Linked DNA regions of Homo sapiens: regions 1, 2, 3 and 4 are each linked to region 5. The links are contacts of gene promoters, found by promoter capture Hi-C in blood cells and fetal thymus (Javierre and others, 2016). All regions are on one chromosome and are shown on one strand. Each heading gives the region's core, a stretch centred on a gene start or on the middle of the fragment in contact. The rest is flanking DNA. Distances are from core to core; before and after follow the strand shown.

Region 1 (3,647 bases), core at 964-3,463, about 32 Mb before region 5:
GTGTGGAGGGTGATCTTATTTATACTGTTAATTTACTGTCCTCTATTGGATTATCCGTATCAGTATGAAAACATGCTCCTATTTCTCCCATCCTAAATTTGTATTATTAGTTTTGCAGTAAAACTCTGTACAAGCTATCTAAACCCTCTATCTACAACTCCTCTCTGCCTATTCAGTTTCAAACCTATTTCAATCAGGTTAATGCTTTAATAAGTTTACTGAGACTGCTTATCATAGACAACAAATTTTGCATTGTTGGGCTAATGATCAACTCCTAGTCTTCACTTGGTTGCATTTAACATAGTTAATCACTCCTTCCTGGATACATGTCATTCACTTGGCTTCAAGACTTCATACATTCTTAGTTTTCTTCCTAGCTCGCTGGTTTGTACTCCTCCATCTCTTTGACTTGTGCCTTCTCTCACGTTCTTAATGTTAGAATGCTCCAGAGCTCTTGTCCTGGTCTTCCTCTCTCTCTCAACATATTATGTTGGTGATTTAATCCAGCATCCGAACTTTAAATCTGTATGCTAATGATTCACTAATTTATAATTTCAGCACAGACTTCTGTCCTGAAGTCAAGGAACACATATTCAAATAATGGATAGCGCCCCATAGATATCTAACAAACATTTCAAATTCAACATTTCACTTAATCTTTCCCCCAGCCCCAAATGTGCTCCACCAGGAGCCATCTCTATTTCAGTTGATAGCAACTCCATTCTTCCAATTATTCAGGTCAAAAATCTTGTAATCATCCTTAATGCTTCTTTCCTACATTCCATATCCAAGTCATTAAGAAATCCTGTTTGCCTATACCATAAGGCCATAGTCATCAAAACAGCATGGTACTGGTATAAAAATAGGCACATAGACCAATGGAACAGAATAGAGAACACAGAAATAAACCCAAATACTTACAGGAAACTGATCTTCCAGAAAGCAAACAAAAACATAAAGTAGGGAAAAGACACCTTATTCAACAAATGGTGCTGGGATAATTGGCAAGTCGCATGTAGAAGAATGAAACTGGATCCTCATCTCTCACCTTATACAAAAATCAACTCAAGATGGATCAAGGACTTAAATCTAAGACCTGAAACCATAAAAATTCTAGAAGATAACATCAGAAAAACCCTTCTAGACATTGGCTTAGGCAAAGACGTCATGACCAAGAACCCAAAAGCAAATGCAACAAAAACAAAGATAAATAGATGGGACTTAATTAAACTAAAAAGCTTCTGCACAGCAAAAGAAACAATCAACAAACAGACAACCCATAGCGGGAGAAAATATTTGCAATCTATACATCCAAAAAAACCACTAATGTCCAGAATCTACAAGGAATCCAAACAAATCAGCAAGAAAAAAAACAATCCCATGGGCTAAGGACATGAATAGACAATTCTCAAAATAAGATACACAAATGGCCAACAAACATGAAAAACTGCTCAACATCACTAATGATCATGGAAATGCAAACCAAAATCATGAGGCAATACCTCCTTACTCCTGCAATAATGGTCATAATGAAAAAATCAAAACATAATAGATGTTGGCAGAATATGTGGTGAAAGTGACTTTCACACTGCTGGTGGTAATGTAAACTAGTACAGTAAGTATGAAAAATAGTGTGGAGATTCCTTAAAGAACTAAAAGTAGACCTACCATTTCATCCAGCAATCCCACTACTGAGTATCTACCCAGAGGACAATAAGTCATTATACAAAAAAGACAGTTGCACATGCACGTTTATAGCAGCACAATTTGCAATTGCAAAAATACGGAACCAGCCCAAATGCCCATCAATCAATGAGTGGATAAAGAAATTATGGTATATATATATATAACATGGAATACTACTCAGTCATAAAAAGGAACAAAATAATGGCATTTGCAGCAACCTAGATGGAATGGGAGACCATTATTCTAAGTGAAGTAACTCAGGAATCAAAAACCAAACATCGTATGTTCTCACTCCTAAGTAGGAGCTAAGCTATGAGGACCCAAAGGCATAAGAATGATACAATGGACTTTGAGGACTCAGGAGAAAGTGTTGGGAGTGGGGGTGAGGGATAAAAGACTTCACAATGGGCACAGTGTATATTGCTTGGGTGACAGGTACATCAAAATCTCAGAAATCACGACTAAAGAACTTATTCATGTAACTAAACACCACCTGTTCCCCCAAAACCTACTGGAATAAATACAGTAAGAAATCCTTGCTTCTACCTTCAAAATATATAAAGAATCTAATCACCGCTAACCACTACCATTGTGGTCAAGGCAACCATCAATTCTGGACTGAATTACCACAATATTTTAACGGATTTCCCTGTTTCTACCTTTCCCTCCCTTCAGTCTAGTCACAACAGCAAAAGCAATTCTTTGAAATACCAAGGTCACCCCCTTGCTCCAATGGCTCCCTATTTTACTGACAGCAATCTAAGTTCCTTACTATAATCTACATAATATAGATTCTATGACTTCTCTGACTTCAAATCCAATGATCACTCCCACTCCTGCTCCCACAGATCACTCCCACTATGTCTGCTCCAGTCACAGTGGCTTCCTTGAACAACGTGACAGGCATGGTCACATCCTAGAGCCCCTGTTCCAGCTGTTCCTCTAATTCAAAGGTACTTCTCCCAGAAATTTCATTAGCTAACTCCCTTCGCATCCTTCAAATTGTTGTTCAAATATAACCCTAACTACAGCCTGACCTCTCCCCACTTAGCACTCCTGATCTTATTGCTCTACTTGTCCTTTTTCCATAGCATTTATCATCTTCTAAAATATTAAAGTTTATTATTTATTGTCTGTCTCCCCTTTTGAGAATATGAACTATAATCATCTTTGTCTTCACATATAATCCCAAAACCTAAATCAGCATCTAGCACATAGTAGGTACTTAATATTTTTGAACACATGAAAGTACAAGCCTTAACCAGAGACCGGTTTTGTGCAAGACAATTTTTCCACAGGCTGGGGTGGGGGGTGGGGAGAAGATGGTTTCGAGATGAAACTGATTCATCTCGGATCATAAGGCATTAGTCAGATTCTCATTGAGAGCGCAACCTAGATCCCTTGCATGTGCAGTTCACAACAGGGGCCAAGGCACTGCTGATCTGACTGGAGGTGGAGCTCAGGCAGCCAGGCGGAGTCGCCCTGAATAGAGATAAAGCTTCCTCAGCCTGCCAGTCACCTCCTGCTGTGCGGCCCAGGTTCTAACAGGTGGTGGTTAGGTACCAGGCCGTGGCTGGGTACCAGTCTGTGTCCCAGGGTTTGAGGATCCCTGCCTTACATCATCATACAAAGTTAATTTTAAAATGTTTCAATAATTTTCAAGACCCTAAATGAACTTTAGACCTCTTTATTATCAGTGAAGCCTTGATTATCTGAAATGAAGGTCATCTAACCTGACTTACTCCAACTTTCTTCTTCTCAAATGGGTATCACATATGTTCTTATTTTCAAAGATTTATGGTTTTTCATTTTTAATGTTAACTCCTCCTACCTGACTCGGCTACTTACTCTATTCTTGAACATTTCTCCCTTTGTTTTCTTAATCTATCACTTTCCAATTAGGCCAAATGCTCTCTAGCCTAAAAGCCCTATCAATATTGCCGTTAACCTCTTACTGCTTC
Region 2 (3,558 bases), core at 9-2,508, about 36 Mb before region 5:
AAACACACTCATTTATTTGTTCAACCATTCATTTATTCAACAGGCATTCTGGACTTTTATCATTCTAGAAATAAGGAATAAAGTAAACAAAAAGCAAACATTCTTATCTCTGAGGAACTTATATTTTTGTGTTAATGTTATGTTATCTATTATTATTATGCTTTTTTACTAGCAATTTATTATACCACTTTTAAGTCTCAACTCTCATGTATTATTTTATCTTGGATGTGCTGATGTGATATTCTCCCACAAATATTTATTTCTAAATTTCTTTCCCTTTTTAATTCAAAGGTATATTATTTAAAAATATTTTTTAAAGCCTAGTGTAAGGATTGAAGATAGTTCTTTCAGGATTTCAAAAATTCACTGTAATTCTCAAAGTGTGTTGAGGAAGGGTAAAGGAGCAATGGCATGAAAAATGTTATAACTGTCTCTTTGATATGAATATTCGTTAAATGATGTAGTTCTTGCCATTCTGCAGTTACTTGGAAGCTGCCAGCATAGAAAGAAGTACTACTGTTAAAAAAAATTTATATAAAATAAAGACACAAGTGGTGACTTTTATGTCTAAACAAATTGGAACATCAAACATAGAAAGCCTAGGTATATGTTATTATCTTGATATGTATAGTGTCTTTTAGATCCGTGGTGTATTGGCCCAGCTATTAAACCCCATACTGAAACAGATGAATAGCAAATTCACAGCTTCTTGATGATATTATTATGAGTGGGTGTAATTCTTTAAGAAAAGTTTGTATTGAATTGTTTAGGTAGTATAAACAAGGATATTATACACTTAATTAATAATTATCAATTCAGTTTCTATTTATTGAGCCCTCTTAAAATACAGAATATTGAACTGTAACAACTTCAGGTATAAATATTGATTATGACATTTTAACAATTTCTACTATAAATCAGGCCAACCATAATAAAAATAGTAAAGAAAAATGTGAATGTAAATTATAATGTGGGGAAAAGTTATGTCTCAGTGCATCCATGGAAATGTACACCTGCTTACCTACCTAAGGCATAATGAGAATCGGGTAGCTTAATGAAATTCAGATATTAAGCCTAATGAATATCATTTAATAGAACTTCTGTCTCTTTTTTATTCTTTTGTGCAAACCTTTAACATGAAAGAAAGCCAGCTATTGGCTTTTTTTTGCTGTGTCATGCTTTTTTATTTTCTAACTTTTATGGGTACATATTAGGTGTATATAATTATGAAGTACATATGATTTCTTTTAAATTTAATTTAATTTTATATTAAGTTCCAGGATACATGTGCAGGATGTGCAGGTTTGTTACATAGGTAAACATGTGTTGTGGTGGTTTGCTGCACCTATCAACCCATCACCTAGGTATTAAGGCCCACAAGCATTAGCTATTTATCCTGATGCTCTCCCTCCCCCTGTTCCTCTGAAAGGCCCCAGTGTGTGTTGTTCCCCTCCCTGTGTCCCTGTGTTCTCATTGTTAACTTCCAATTATAAGTGAGAACATGTGACGTTTGGTTTTCTGTTCCTGTATTAGTTTGTTGAGGATAATGGCTTCTATCTCCATCCATTTCCCTGCAAAGGACATGATCTCTTTCCTTTTTATGGCTGCATAGTATTCCATGGTGTATATGTACCACAGACGACATGAACCTATATCTAGAAAACCCCATAGTCTCTGCCCAAAACCTCCTTAAGATAAGCAACTTCAGCAAAGTCTCAGGATACAAAATCAATGTGCAAAAAGCACAGGCATTCCTATACACCAACAATAGACAAGCAGAGTCAAATCATAAATGAACTCCCATTCACATCTGCTACAAAGAGAATAAAATACCTAGGAATATAGCTAAGAAGGGAAGCGAAGGACCTCTTCAAGGAGAACTACAAACCACTGCCCAAGGAAATAGGAGAGGACACAAACAAATGGAAAAACATTCCATTTTCATGGATAGGAAGAATCACTATTGTGAAAATGACCATACTGCGCCAAAGTAATTTGAGATTCAATGCTATTCCCATTAAACTACCATTGACATTCTTCACAGAATTAGAAAAAACTACTTTAAAAATCATACAGAACCAAAAAAGAGCCCATATAGCCAAGACAATCCTAAGCAAAAAACAAAGCTGGAGGCATCATGCTACTCAACTTCAAACTATACTTACTACAAGGCTACAGTAAACAAAAAAAGCATGGTACTGGTATAAAAACAGACACATAGACCAATAGAACAGAATAGAGATCTTACAAATAAGGCCACACATCTGCAACCATCTGACATTCAACAAACCTGATGAAAAGAAGCAATGGGAAAAGGATTCCCTATTTAATGAATTGTGCTGGCAAAATTGACTAGTCATATTGAAAAAGTGAAAATTGAAACTGGATCCCTTACTTATACCTTCTACAAATATTAACTCAAGATGGATTAAAGACTTAAATGTCAAACCCAAAACTATAAAAACCCTAGAAGAAAATGTAGGCAATACCATTCAGGACATAGGCACAGGCAAAGACTTCATGACAAAAACATCAAAAGCAATTGCAACAAAAGCAAAAATTGACAAATGAGATCTAATTAAACTAAAGAGCTTCTGCAAAGCAAAAGAAACTATCATCAGAGTGAACAGGCACCCTACAGAATAGGAGAAAAATTTTGCAATCTATCCATCTGACAAAGGTCTAATATTTGGCTTCTACCAAGAACTTAAACAAATTTACAAGAATAAATAAACAACCCCATTAAAAAGTGGGCAAAGGACATGAACACACACTTCTCAAAAGAAGACATTTGGCTGGGCGTGGTGGCTCACGCCTGTAATCCCAGCACTTTGGGAGGCCGAGGAGGGGGGAACACCAGGTCAGGAGATCGAGACCATCCTAGCTAACATGGTGAAACCCCATCTCTACTAAAAATACAAAAAATTAGCCAGGTGTGGTGGTGGGCACCTGTAGTCCCAGCAACTCAGGAGGCTGAGGCAGGAGAATGGCATGATCTCAGGAGGCGGAGCTTGCAGTGAGCAGAGATAGTGCCATTGCACTCCAGCCTGGGCGACAGAGCGAGACTCTGCCTCAAAAAAAAAAAAAAAAAAAAAAAAAAACCAGACATTTATGCAGCCAATGGACACGTGAAAAAAAGCTCAATGTAGTTACATTACATTGTGATCATTACAGACATGGAAATTGAAACCACAATGAGATACCATCGTACGCCAGTCAGAATCCTATTATTAAAGTCAAGAAACAACAGATGCTGGCGAGGCTGCAGAAAAATAGTAATGCTTTTCCACTGTTTATGGGAATGTAAATTAGTTCAACCATTGTGGAAGACAGTGGCGATTCCTCAAAGACCTAGAACCAGAAATGCCATTTGATCCAGCAATCCCATTACTGAGTATATACTCAAAGGAGTAGAAATCATTCAGTTTTAAAGATACATGCACATGTATGTTCACTGCAGCACTATTCACAATAACAAAGACATGGAATCAACTCAAATGCCCATTAATGATAGACTGGACAACTATTGGTCTTTATCAGATTCTTATGTTCTCATAG
Region 3 (3,680 bases), core at 147-2,646, about 24 Mb before region 5:
AACAGAATAGCAATGGGTGAAACTCCTGACTTTCACCTTAGAAAACTGTGACCGTCATACTAGTTATATGTTCGGAAGAAAACTGCCTTAGTTCTTTTAAGAATTGGAAAGGATTAGCATTCTTCCTAATTGGTCTTGGTAAATCCCCCTGCCCACCCACACATACACTGTAGCTGCAAAATAAGATTATACAAAATGATACTGTCATCTCTACAAGAAACTGAAAAGCCCAATAACATACTCCATTCTTCTGGTATTTAATGTGGCAATAAAATTACATACTTTTAAAAACTCATTTTCTCCCAAAAACTCTAGAAGTATGTATTGTACTCTTCCATATCTCATCTGCTTGACATTGTACAAGCAATTAAACTGGCTCCTTTCTGCCTCAGAATTTTTCATATGACACATGCACTGTAAGTCTGATTTTTTGTTTTCTTTTTTTGCCATAATAAAAAAGAAAACAAAGTTGCCCCTATCTGCTTTAAGGTTATTAACAGCTTAGAAACAGTGATTAGCAGAAAAATAATTATGCTCTAAATCTAATACTAATCTCTGCCCCTCCTTAGCCCCCCAGAACCTTAGTTAATAAGCTTAATTCACAAACTGATCATTCTCAACAAACATCTATGCCCTAGAAAACTTAAGGCTTGCCCCAGAAAACTAAAATCTCCATAAGTCCAAGGGTGTTTTCATGTATTCTAAAGACCCTACCAAAAGGGTCTTGCCCTCTTGTTCAAGTTGATACAAATTGACTACTTGTTGTTTCTAACCAAATCATTCTGTCTTATAGTAAGTGTATCATTTTCATACCTAAAACACAAACTGAAACAGGTTTCAAACCTTATGCTTCCTTACAAACATCAGAAAGTAAGCTCCTAAACACATTCCAAACAGAAATTCAAACTAGAGAAACTTAAACTTTTAGAACTCCAAATTCACACTAATGCTATTTTTAAGGTTTCATTCTACTTAATAAAATACAACACACAACAGAAACTCTATAAATGCAGTCAAATAACAGAAGACATTTTTAAAAAAAGGTAAAATTTAAGAGAATGGGTTTTTCAGGATTCACTAAGAGCCCATTAAGAAATTGTTTACATACCATATACATCTGACCTTCCCTACACTTGTGTTTTTTTTCTTTGCAATTGTTATATATCCTCAAGATACAACTTTGAAGAAAACCACCAAGAAACCTTCAGCACCCTCTCATACTTGGTAAGACAAGACTGTCTCCTCTTGCTCCCAGGCAGCTCCCAGGCAAGCATACACCAGTGCTTGTTTTATGCTTCAGTTGGATTTTTACATAAGTTTCAATGTAGCTTCAGAAGAAAAAAAAAAAAACTAAAAATAAATGAAGCTAAAAGTAGCAATCTCATCGGTTTTATAGAAGTCAGCTCAATACTGACAATCAGCATAAAACCGAGCTGAGCAGATTTAGAGGGGTCAATGTGTGACAGTCATGATTCATTTTATAAGAAGGCCCAAACTAATTTGAACATTAGTGTTGCTAAAATACAAAAATTCACTCTGCAGCTTCTGTGAAAACCTATTACATGATATTGGGTTCTCCCATCTTACAACTTTTTTATCTGTAAGATTCTTTCCAGAAGCACAACTCCCACATATAACGAACATTGACTATGGCCACATAATCTGTGTCACTCAATTTCCTCATCAGGAAAATGGTGATACAATACCAATCTCACGCCTCTCATAGATCCACACATACATGCACAAACACTCCCCTTTGGGATTGTTCTGAACATAAGTTGGCTCACACTCATATCTTTTCTCTGGGTGCTCATTATCGCTCTTTCTGCACAAGTATTTCCTTGCTTTCCAAGAACTATTTTCCTGATGCAACAGCCCCATCTCTCTATTAAGGAGCATGATGCAGTGCAAAGGCCCATACACCTGGAGCCTGGTGGTTATTTAACCAGTCTGAGTATCAGTTATCTTCTCTGTGAAGTAAGACCAATAGTACCCCTCATCAAGTAAGATGCATTTCAAGTATCACGTACATGGCAGGTCACCCCATCAAATCTGGCACCTGGACTGACTACAATGCATACAGAAAAACAGAATATCCCTAATGTGGTCTATCCACAGCCCTCCCTTGTAGATGGGAGTGTAGGGACTTACTTAATTTGCACCCCTAAGAGATGGTTATGCCTCTTACTAGAAGCTTACTATAACCATTGTAAAGAGATCAAAAGGCAGATAAAATCCCCTGAAATTCTCAGCATAAAATTAGTCCAGCTAAATGGAATCCAATTATTTAGCTTCTTCAATCTTACGGCCTTAATAGTTGATCCTTGGGTTAGCAGTCTGAGTCTTGCTGGGTTATCTTGTTACCAGGAATGCAATTCCTCTGCAACATTCTCCTGATTCCAGTGGCAAAAGGGAGAACCTTATTTGGGGGAGGCCAGAAAAGAACTAGTGTTTAGAGTGTTCTGGTATCAAGTGTGTATCCTCCAACCCAAACTGACAGTGATGGTGAGTGGTAGCCAGCAGTCTGCTGCATGTTTACTGTGGTCTGTTAAAGAAGTCCTTACTTTGTAAAAAGATGTTACGAAAATCATGGGAAAAAAAAAAAAGGCCTTTACCTTACCCCCTTAATTCCCACTTGTGAACATCAAACATCCCCATTTCAATCACTGAATTATTCTACCTCTCAGCAACAAAATGTCCTAAGTTGTTACACTGAATTCTTTTATAATTCAATTACTTATTGATGCCAGAACATGGAATTAAACTAATTAGGAGGCATGGCTTGAAAGTCATGCTCAATTTAACAGCAGATAAAGGGTTCACAGTGTTCTCAAGATTAAGAAACTGTTTTCTTTCTATGCTTACATTTTTGGGTTTTCTCTGACCCTTCAGCAGTGTTTTATGCTCAGCTGTGTACTAATGACCCAGACCATTACCAGTTCTTTAAGGTGTGATGGGAAATTGCAGGTTCATTTTTCCAGGATATTCCCAACTGAGCCATAATAAAGGAATTTAGGAAAACTGATGATCTCTTCAAATAGCTGCCTCAGGCAGAAGTAATTATCAATAAAGAGAACAGTGGAGACAGAGAGGGAGATGGTGAAGAATTATCCAATCAGAAGAGGGATGACAAGAAAACACTAAAAGTGAGTAAACCCCTTCATATGGATTTTAAACAATTGTTTCAAAAGATACAAGTCAGGCTGGGCACTAAAAAGAAAGCAACTCCATTACACTAATAGGTGCATAGTGCCTGGAACATAACAGTGCCCAATGAGTGGATGTGAGTGGATGAATGCAAGAAGGAATAAATGGAAGTCAACTCCCTGTCCTTCAGTGAATAACACACCCAATGGATATCATGAAGGATCTTAATCTTAAATGGTTTTCTCACAACATCCAGCCCATTTTTAGACTACTTTTTTTTTTTTTTTCTGAGACAGAGTTTCACTCTTGTTACCCAGGCTGCAGTGCAATGAATGGTGAGATCTTGGCTCACTGCAACCTCCGCCTCCCGGGTTCAAGTGATTCTCCTGCCTCAGCCTCCCGAGTAGCAAGGATCACAGGCGTGTGCCACCATGCCCAGCTAATTTTTGTATTTTTAGTAGAGATGGGGTTTCGCCATGTTGGCCAGGCTGGTCTTGAACTCCTGACCTCAGGTGATCTGCCCGCCTCGGCCT
Region 4 (3,512 bases), core at 184-2,683, about 48 Mb before region 5:
TCCTTTGTAGGGACATGAATGAAGCTGGAAACCATCATTCTCAGCAAACTATTGCAAGGAGAAAAAACCAATCACCGCATGTTCTCACTCATAGGTGGGAATTGAACAATGAGAACACATGGACACAGGAAGGGGAACATCACACACTGGGGACGGTTGTGGGGTGGGGGGAGGGGGGAGGGATAGCATTAGGAGAGATACCTAATGCTAAATGACGAGTTAATGGGTGCAGCACACCAACATGGCACATGTATACATATGTAACAAACCTGCACGTTGTGCACATGTAACCTAAAACTTAAAGTATTAAAAAAAAAAAAAATTAGCCGGGTGTGGTGGGCGCCTGTAATCCCAGCTACTTGAGAGGCTGAAGCAGGAGAATCGCTTGAACCCGGAAGATGGACGCTGCAGTGAGCCAAGATCAGTCCACTGCACTCCAGCCTGGGCAGCAGAGCAAGACTCCATCTCAAAGAAAACAAAAACAAAAACAAAAACAAATGTATTAGCTTACGATTCTTGGGGTAAGAAGTCCTGAAATCAAGGTGGAGGCAGGGCTGTGTTCCATCTGGAGGCTTTAGGGGAGAATCCAGGCTTTTCTTTTCTACCTGCATTCCTTGACTCTGGGTCCTCTTCCATCTTCCAACCTCTGTTTCCATCATCACATTTCCTTCTTAGACTGACTCTCCTGCTCCCCTGTTAGAAAAACCTCTATGATTACATTGGACTAAACAGAATAAACCAGGATAATATTCTCATCTCAAGATTCTTAATCACATCTGCAAAGTTCCTTCTGCCATATAGCCATCTTCAGGGCCCATCATTCTATCTACCTTTGGGGCAGAGAAACAGAAAATCTGTGCACATACTGGTCCACCCTCTCCTAAAGAGCAGTGTGACTTCATTTGCATTCTCTTTGATCTTAGTTTCCTTACTTGTAAATAAGAAAATGCATTTAACAAATATGTTACTAGACATGCACATTCTGAACTTTGAGGATGCATAATAAAGCAGACAAAAGGCTATGCTCCCATGCTGCTTATGTTCTAGAGGCGGAGAAAATAAAGTAAAATGTTTTAGGTGGTAACTGGTGAGCATTGGTGAGGAGACCAGCATGTCTGGAGTAAAGCAAAGCAGGGGGAAGTTAATGGGGAAAGGGCCAGAAAGAGAGGTTGGGATGGGGGATGCAGGTCACTTAGGTCTTATAGGTTTTGAGAACTTTGGATTTTTTCCAAATGACATGGAAAGTCACTGGAGGGTTTTGGGCAGAGTAGTGACCATGAGCTGACATACATTTTAATAGGTCACTCTGATGGCTGATTGAAAATACACGTAAGCGGGTGAAGGAGGAAGCAGGGAGATGTGTCGGTACCTTATTCTCTTTACTCTCACCTTTCTTTATGCTCTATTCATTTGCATATCCTTGCTTTCTTCATGCAGTTCTCTCTCCTAAGGGCACCCTGCTCCTCTTTCCAATTCAAAATTCTATACAGACACTCCTTCAAGATTGAGCTCAGTACTCATCTTAGAGCAGTAAGGAAACTTTGGGAGCTTATTCTTTGCCCCCATTTTCAGATGAGGACACTGAGGTCCAGAACTCTTAGGAAGCCTGTCCAAGGTTATACGAACAGCAAGCAGTGAGGCTAGGATTGCTGACAAAGTGTGATTCTAAGGAAATCACAAGGGCTTCCTGATACAAAGATGTTTCTCTTGAATTTTCTTCTTCTTTTTTTTTTTTTTTGACAAACCCACAGCCAACATCTTATGTCTTGAAATTCTGTTTGTTGTTTGCCTTCTCCTTCATTAAACGGAGATCTTGACGAGCACAGATGGTATCCTATTCAGCTCTGTGCATTTAGTACAGTGCCTGGCACAAAAGACACCCAATAAGTATTTGCTAGGTGAGTAAATAATGGAATGTCAAGCTCTTGAAAATCTGTGTGTGTGTGTTACTAGTCTCATGTCTTCCCCAAGTTCACCATCTCATGGTGTTAAATGTCAGTTGGACAGGTCTAAAAACTTTTTTTTTTGAGACGGAGTCTCGATCTGTCTCCCAGGCTGGAGTGCAGTGGCACGATCTCGGCTCACTGCAACCTCCACCTCCTGGGTTCACACCATTCTCCTGCCTCAGCCTCCCGAGTAGCTGGGACTACAGGTGCCTGCCACCATGCCCGGCTAATTTTTGTTATTTTTAATAGAGTCAGGGTTTCACCATGTTAGCCAGGATGGTCTCGATCTCCTGACCTCGTGATCCGCCTGCCTTGGCCTCCCAAAGTGTTGGGATTACAGGCGTGAGCCACCGCGTCCGGCCACCAAGGACAGGTCTAAAAACTTATGAGCTGAGTGTTCTAGAAAAGGAGACCTTATTATTGTCTTAAAAAAAAAAAGGAGTGGCAACAGGATTAGAGTGGGGATCTTCCCAACACAGTAAAGATCAGAGCTAGAGACCCTCTTCTTTTCCTTCCCTCCTTAATTCTCAAGCAGTCTGGGATAAGAGGGATGAACTAAGTTCTAAACGAATGTCACTCTTTGAGGAGAAACCACAGCCCTGTGTCCTGTGACCTTCTGTGCACTAGGCATGGTAGTCTTGTTTTTACTGAGGTGATAACTAGCCGTGACAACGTAAGTGGTAAGTGTACCCCCGCCTCTTACTCCTGTGGTGGGGTTGTGCATGCAGACCAGGAGAAAGGCCCCAAGAAGTATGTCCCTGTTTTCACTGTCAGTGGTTGTGTGGACTCATACTGAATTATCTAGTGGCTAATATTTTTAAAAATAGGGGACTTGGCTGGGCGTGGTGACTCATGCCTGTAATCCCAGCACTTTGGGAGGCTGAGGTGGGTGGATCGCCTGAGGTCAAGAGTTCGAGACCAGCCTGCCCAACATGGTGAAACCTCATCTCTACTAAAAATACAAAAATCAGCTGGGTGTGGTGGTGGGCACCTGTAATCCCAGCTACTCAGGAGGCTGAGGCAGGAGAATCACTTGAACCCAGGAGGCAGAGGTTGCAGTGAGCCCAGATCACTCCACTGCACTCCAGCCTGGGCAACAGAGTGAGACTCTGTCTAATAAAAAAAAAAAGGTGGAAAAGTTAAGGACTTTCCAATGTCACTTTACTTGCTATAGCAGTGTTAGAACTGGGAATAAAGTCCCATCTTCTTTTCAGTGCACCCACTGCCTTCTGGGACACATTTTCTTGTTTTTTTGCTTCAATCCTCCTAGTGGAAGTTTACCCTCTCAGATTACAACTGATATGAACAGATCCTTAAAAACAGAACTGGCACACAGAGAACTTGATGATAAATTGGAAGATGATGCAAGCACAAGGACTGAATCCAGAAATAAATCATATCTTCACATAATGTTTATAGAAATTGCATTTTGAAAATTTTCCATAGAAATTATTTTACCCACGACAGGAATGCTACTCTCTCCCACAGGGATTTGACCAAACAGAAGGGGAAGCAGAACGGAGGAAGAGTAGTAATTTAGATTTATATACGAATTACTTGGAACCT
Region 5 (3,838 bases), core at 984-3,483:
GAGACAAAAGGAGAAGAATGTAAGAGGAGAGAGCTAGAGAAGAGGATCCCCTAATTCTATGTATGAACCTATACAAGTTCTGTGTTCACACCTAAACTGAACACGTGCAGAACAAACACAAAATAGCATAGCAAAACTGAATTTCAATTTAAACTACTGCTAACATCCCCAAATAATCCCTGAGTATTGTAGGTATAGGACACAGCAAAGCCTTTGAAAACCCAGCTGACATGGAACCAGTACTCATAGAAGATGAGACCGAACTTTTGACCTGAACCAAATTGGATCGATTGCCTTCTAAAACAAAAAAAAATCAACATTCCCTAAAGGCTTTTAACAGGACTCAGTCTATGCAACATAATGTTCAAAATGTCCTAGATAAAATCCACAATTACACAGTATAAAAGAACTGGAAAAATGTGACCAACTTGCAAGGGAAAATATAATCAACACCTGCTAACTCCTAGATGACCAAAATGTTATAATACAGATTTTAAAGCAACAATCATAACTAGAGAGTAGTTGAACAATTTCTCTCCTAAACATAATCATACTTGCATAAAGACATTTCAGTCAATGATGAACCACATATACAAAGGTGGTCCCATAAGATTACAATACCATATTTTTACTGTACCTTTATATTTAGATACACAAATACCACTGCGTTACAACTGCCTACAGTATTTAGTACAATAAGATGTACTAAATGCAGGTTTGTAGTCTAGGAGCAATAGGCTATACCATATAGCCTAGGTGTGTAGTAGGCTATACCTGCTAGGCCTGTGTAAGCACATTCTATGATGTTCACACAACAGCACAATTGCCGAAAGTGGCATTTCTCAGAACATATCCCTATCATTAAGTGAGGCATGACTGTATATGCTGTATTCTAAAAAAAATTAATGCATTTATATACCAGAATCTATGCATAAGAATGCTCATACTGGTGTTGTTTGTAATACCAAGCCTGAGAAACAGAAGGAATAAACTGTCACAAAACCACAAAACGGAATAGTATCAGTATACATCAGTGCAAATAAAAGAATTACACCTATACACTTCTACATGCAACTACCTAGGATTAATTTAGAAGCATAATGAACAAAAAAAGAGTACAGAATCAACTATGCTTACACAGCTCATAAAATTAAACATACATGTATGTTAGGTTTTGAAGGGAAGGCAAGGATTAAAGAAAGAGAGGGTGGCTTAACAACAAATACAGGATTTATGTCCAGCATAAGACCTACAGAGGTGGGAGACCAGCTTAATGCCAGTGCCCGTTGCTTCTTACAGGCTGGGGTGATTTATAGGCCTGGGTGGGAGTGGTCTGGGGGGCCATGGCCTGCTTCCTGGGAACATGTTGATAAGGTGTTCCCAGGACGAGGCGGCTCTGGCCCTTGTTCCAGTGGAATGTGGTACTTTCTCCCAGCAGAGTATAAGAGGCAGCCTGTTTCTCACGCCCGAACCCCGTGGAATGTTTCACTTTGACTAAGGTCTGCAAAATGGCAGGGGGGCTTACAAAAATGGTGCAGTTTGGACTAACAACGTACATAAATTTTTAAAAAGCAAAAGAATAAATCCCAAATATGGGAAAGTGTTATCTGTGGAAGAAAGTAATGGGATGGTATCAGAAAAGACACTGGTAATTTAAACAGTGTTGACAATGTCTCAGTTTTAAAATTACCAGCTGGTTCCCATGTATAAGTTGCTTACTTATCTGTTACACCTATTTATGTATATATAAAAATAGGTTTCCAAACGACATCCCATGTGTATGAAATAACAGAATTTTTATGCCTTATTAAAATAATTTCTCTAAACACTTGAAGAGCCCGAGCCGCCTCTTACCCTAAACGAACCCCACGCCCCTGAATTGATCAGTCACTTCCGCCTCCACCTTTCCAGCTCCACCTAAGGAAGCGGAAGTACTTTACTCTTGGGTCCTCCCACCTGTAGGGGGCTCTCCGAGGCTTCTAGTGCCACGAAGGCCTCCTGCCTGGGTTGTCCTTATGGCGCCTGTGAGTTTAGTTCTAGAAAAGATATTTGTATTTTAACTTTTCCATCTAACAAACAGTAGCACAGGCATCTTAGTCTGGACAACAACGTACAAGCTGAATTCCTGGCTAGTTCCCTCATTATCAAACCCTGACACAGTAGTAGGCGCGAGTCAGGCAGTGTGGGGACAGCCCCGAGTTGCCGAAAGTCCCCGGCCCGTTTTCCTCCTGTGAAGACATAGCTGCGGGTGGCTGTGCTGGTGGCGTTCAAGATGTCGACCAAGAATTTCCGAGTCAGTGACGGGGACTGGATTTGCCCTGACAAAAAGTGAGTTCAAGAAGGGTCCTGAATTGGGACGGAGTTTGTTAGTGGAAGCTTTCCGAGGTCCGTCCGGCATTTTCCTTTTTTATGATTTTCTGTGCCTTAAGACGGGTTGAGGCGGCGAACCGCCAGTTCCCTGGCGGGAAGAAGGCTCCCAATCTCCTCACGAGAGAGGTCTTTCCGGGAGCCTTTGTTCTAGATATGTCTTCAGCGTTTCCTCGACATTACCTCCGCAAGGTAGCCTCTCTTTTTAGAGTGCGAGATGGCCTACCTTTTTGCCCCCACCCCCCTCCCCCGCCCCGGCCAGGTTTTAGCGATAGGAAACCTCTCCAGTCAGGCCAGCTTGGTGTTGGATCTCCCCCACGTGACTTTTCTCTGCAGAACTTTACTCTTGTTCACGGAAAATATTGCTTTCTCGCACTCGTCCTTTTGCCTCTTATAGTTCACCTTGTTTTGTATTTTTACTCAAACTTTTCCTCCATACTATTTTCCCCTTTTCCGGAAGCTCTACCCTCTTCGGTTTGGGAAATTCTGACATTTTCTTTGTGGATCATTTCTCCACAAGAATTGGGCTTTTCGCCTCCTTAGAGCCGAAAAGGAGGGAAGAGGCCTGTGTTTTTGCCTACTCAGCCCTTAAGATGCCTGCAGCAGAGAAGCACGTGTGTTAGTGGCTCTGCTTTTTGACATTGTTGCCAAAGCCAGTACTCGACTAGATAGTTAATCAGATTTTTTTTGAAGGGTGCACAAATAGGTGTATCTATTCGGAAATAACATGGAAAATAATTTAATGTACAACTCATGTTCACATAAAAGCCTTTTATTTGTTGTACCTAAGTTAGCCACAAATAGGTTTTGATTGTAAAAAGCAAAAACTTTGAAATAAACCTGGGTTTAGTTAAAATTCTATTACTTATTTAACTGCTAAAAAAGGAATAGAATTTTTTTTTTAATGAAAACATGAAATAACATGGATAGGGTGTGTAAACAGTGACGTGTAGCAAATTCTAATTGGTGGCTATTGATAGTAATTTGATATTAAGATGACCTGAAGGAGTAGTTCAAGCCTAACAAATGATACTGAATAGAACCAAAGTTATATGTTATGGATAGTATTGCTCTGAGTGGTAAGACATTATTGAAAACGTTCAAAAGATTTAGAACAACAACTTCTGACTTTGTTGTTACCTGTAAAATAATGTGCTTTTGTCAGTGTCTTTAATGACAGCACACCCAGAGGTAGGACTCTCAATGAGAGTTCATTTCAACTCATTTACAAATATATGAATAGAATGTTGTTTGTACAATATGTTTAAATGCAGGATAAATTTTCAGAGTATATTTTCCATGCTTAATGGAGTTAAAAGGAATATTTTTAGGGGAAAAACTTAACCTAAATATTATTTAGAGTGTTTCACTTTAGTGTCATCCCATACTTCACATCTGTATTGTATTCTAGTATAATGCCTTAAAAATCAGCTTTTTAAAGTTTAAGCATTCCATGTTATCCAGAGCATTT

What was found. Contacts are between HindIII fragments. The CHiCAGO score rates a contact against its expected background, and 5 or more counts as called.
Region 1: a fragment that was not itself captured here is called in contact with the fragment with the promoter of ZRANB2 in region 5 in 4 of 17 cell types (total CD4 T cells, total CD8 T cells, activated CD4 T cells and 1 more); the score reaches 9.3 in total CD4 T cells.
Region 2: a contact is called between a fragment that was not itself captured here and the fragment with the promoter of ZRANB2 in region 5, in 1 of 17 cell types (non-activated CD4 T cells). The highest score is 5.1, in non-activated CD4 T cells.
Region 3: a contact is called between a fragment that was not itself captured here and the fragment with the promoter of ZRANB2 in region 5, in 3 of 17 cell types (total CD4 T cells, activated CD4 T cells and naive CD4 T cells). The highest score is 8.1, in total CD4 T cells.
Region 4: a fragment that was not itself captured here is called in contact with the fragment with the promoter of ZRANB2 in region 5 in 1 of 17 cell types (total CD4 T cells); the score reaches 5.9 in total CD4 T cells.

Annotation. Positions count from the first base shown.
Region 1 is chr1:103,529,411-103,533,057 of GRCh38, reverse strand. The region is part of intron 2 of RNPC3 (RNA binding region (RNP1, RRM) containing 3); the gene reads right to left. Among named protein-coding and RNA genes, the nearest start is that of RNPC3, 5.5 kb to the right of the region's middle. The HindIII fragment of the contact is 1,946 bases long and covers 1,241-3,186 here.
Region 2 is chr1:107,049,074-107,052,631 of GRCh38, reverse strand. No RefSeq gene overlaps it. Among named protein-coding and RNA genes, the nearest start is that of PRMT6, 5.8 kb to the left of the region's middle. The HindIII fragment of the contact is 6,068 bases long and covers 1-3,558 here.
Region 3 is chr1:95,236,087-95,239,766 of GRCh38, reverse strand. The region is part of intron 7 of TLCD4-RWDD3 (TLCD4-RWDD3 readthrough); the gene reads right to left. The region is part of intron 1 of RWDD3 (RWD domain containing 3); the gene reads right to left. Among named protein-coding and RNA genes, the nearest start is that of RWDD3, 3.7 kb to the right of the region's middle. The HindIII fragment of the contact is 1,601 bases long and covers 596-2,196 here.
Region 4 is chr1:119,147,746-119,151,257 of GRCh38, reverse strand. WARS2-AS1 (WARS2 antisense RNA 1) reads right to left here. Exons shown (of 7, transcript NR_125975.1): 4 at 512-693. Among named protein-coding and RNA genes, the nearest start is that of WARS2, 8.8 kb to the right of the region's middle. The HindIII fragment of the contact is 7,646 bases long and covers 1-3,512 here.
Region 5 is chr1:71,079,430-71,083,267 of GRCh38, reverse strand. It overlaps ZRANB2 (zinc finger RANBP2-type containing 2), which reads left to right and starts at 2,233. Exons shown (of 10, transcript NM_203350.3): 1 at 2,233-2,328. The coding sequence starts at 2,273. It overlaps ZRANB2-DT (ZRANB2 divergent transcript), which reads right to left and starts at 1,944. Exons shown (of 4, transcript NR_046217.1): 1 at 1,855-1,944. RefSeq lists an enhancer at 1,994-2,283. The HindIII fragment of the contact is 3,322 bases long and covers 1-2,378 here.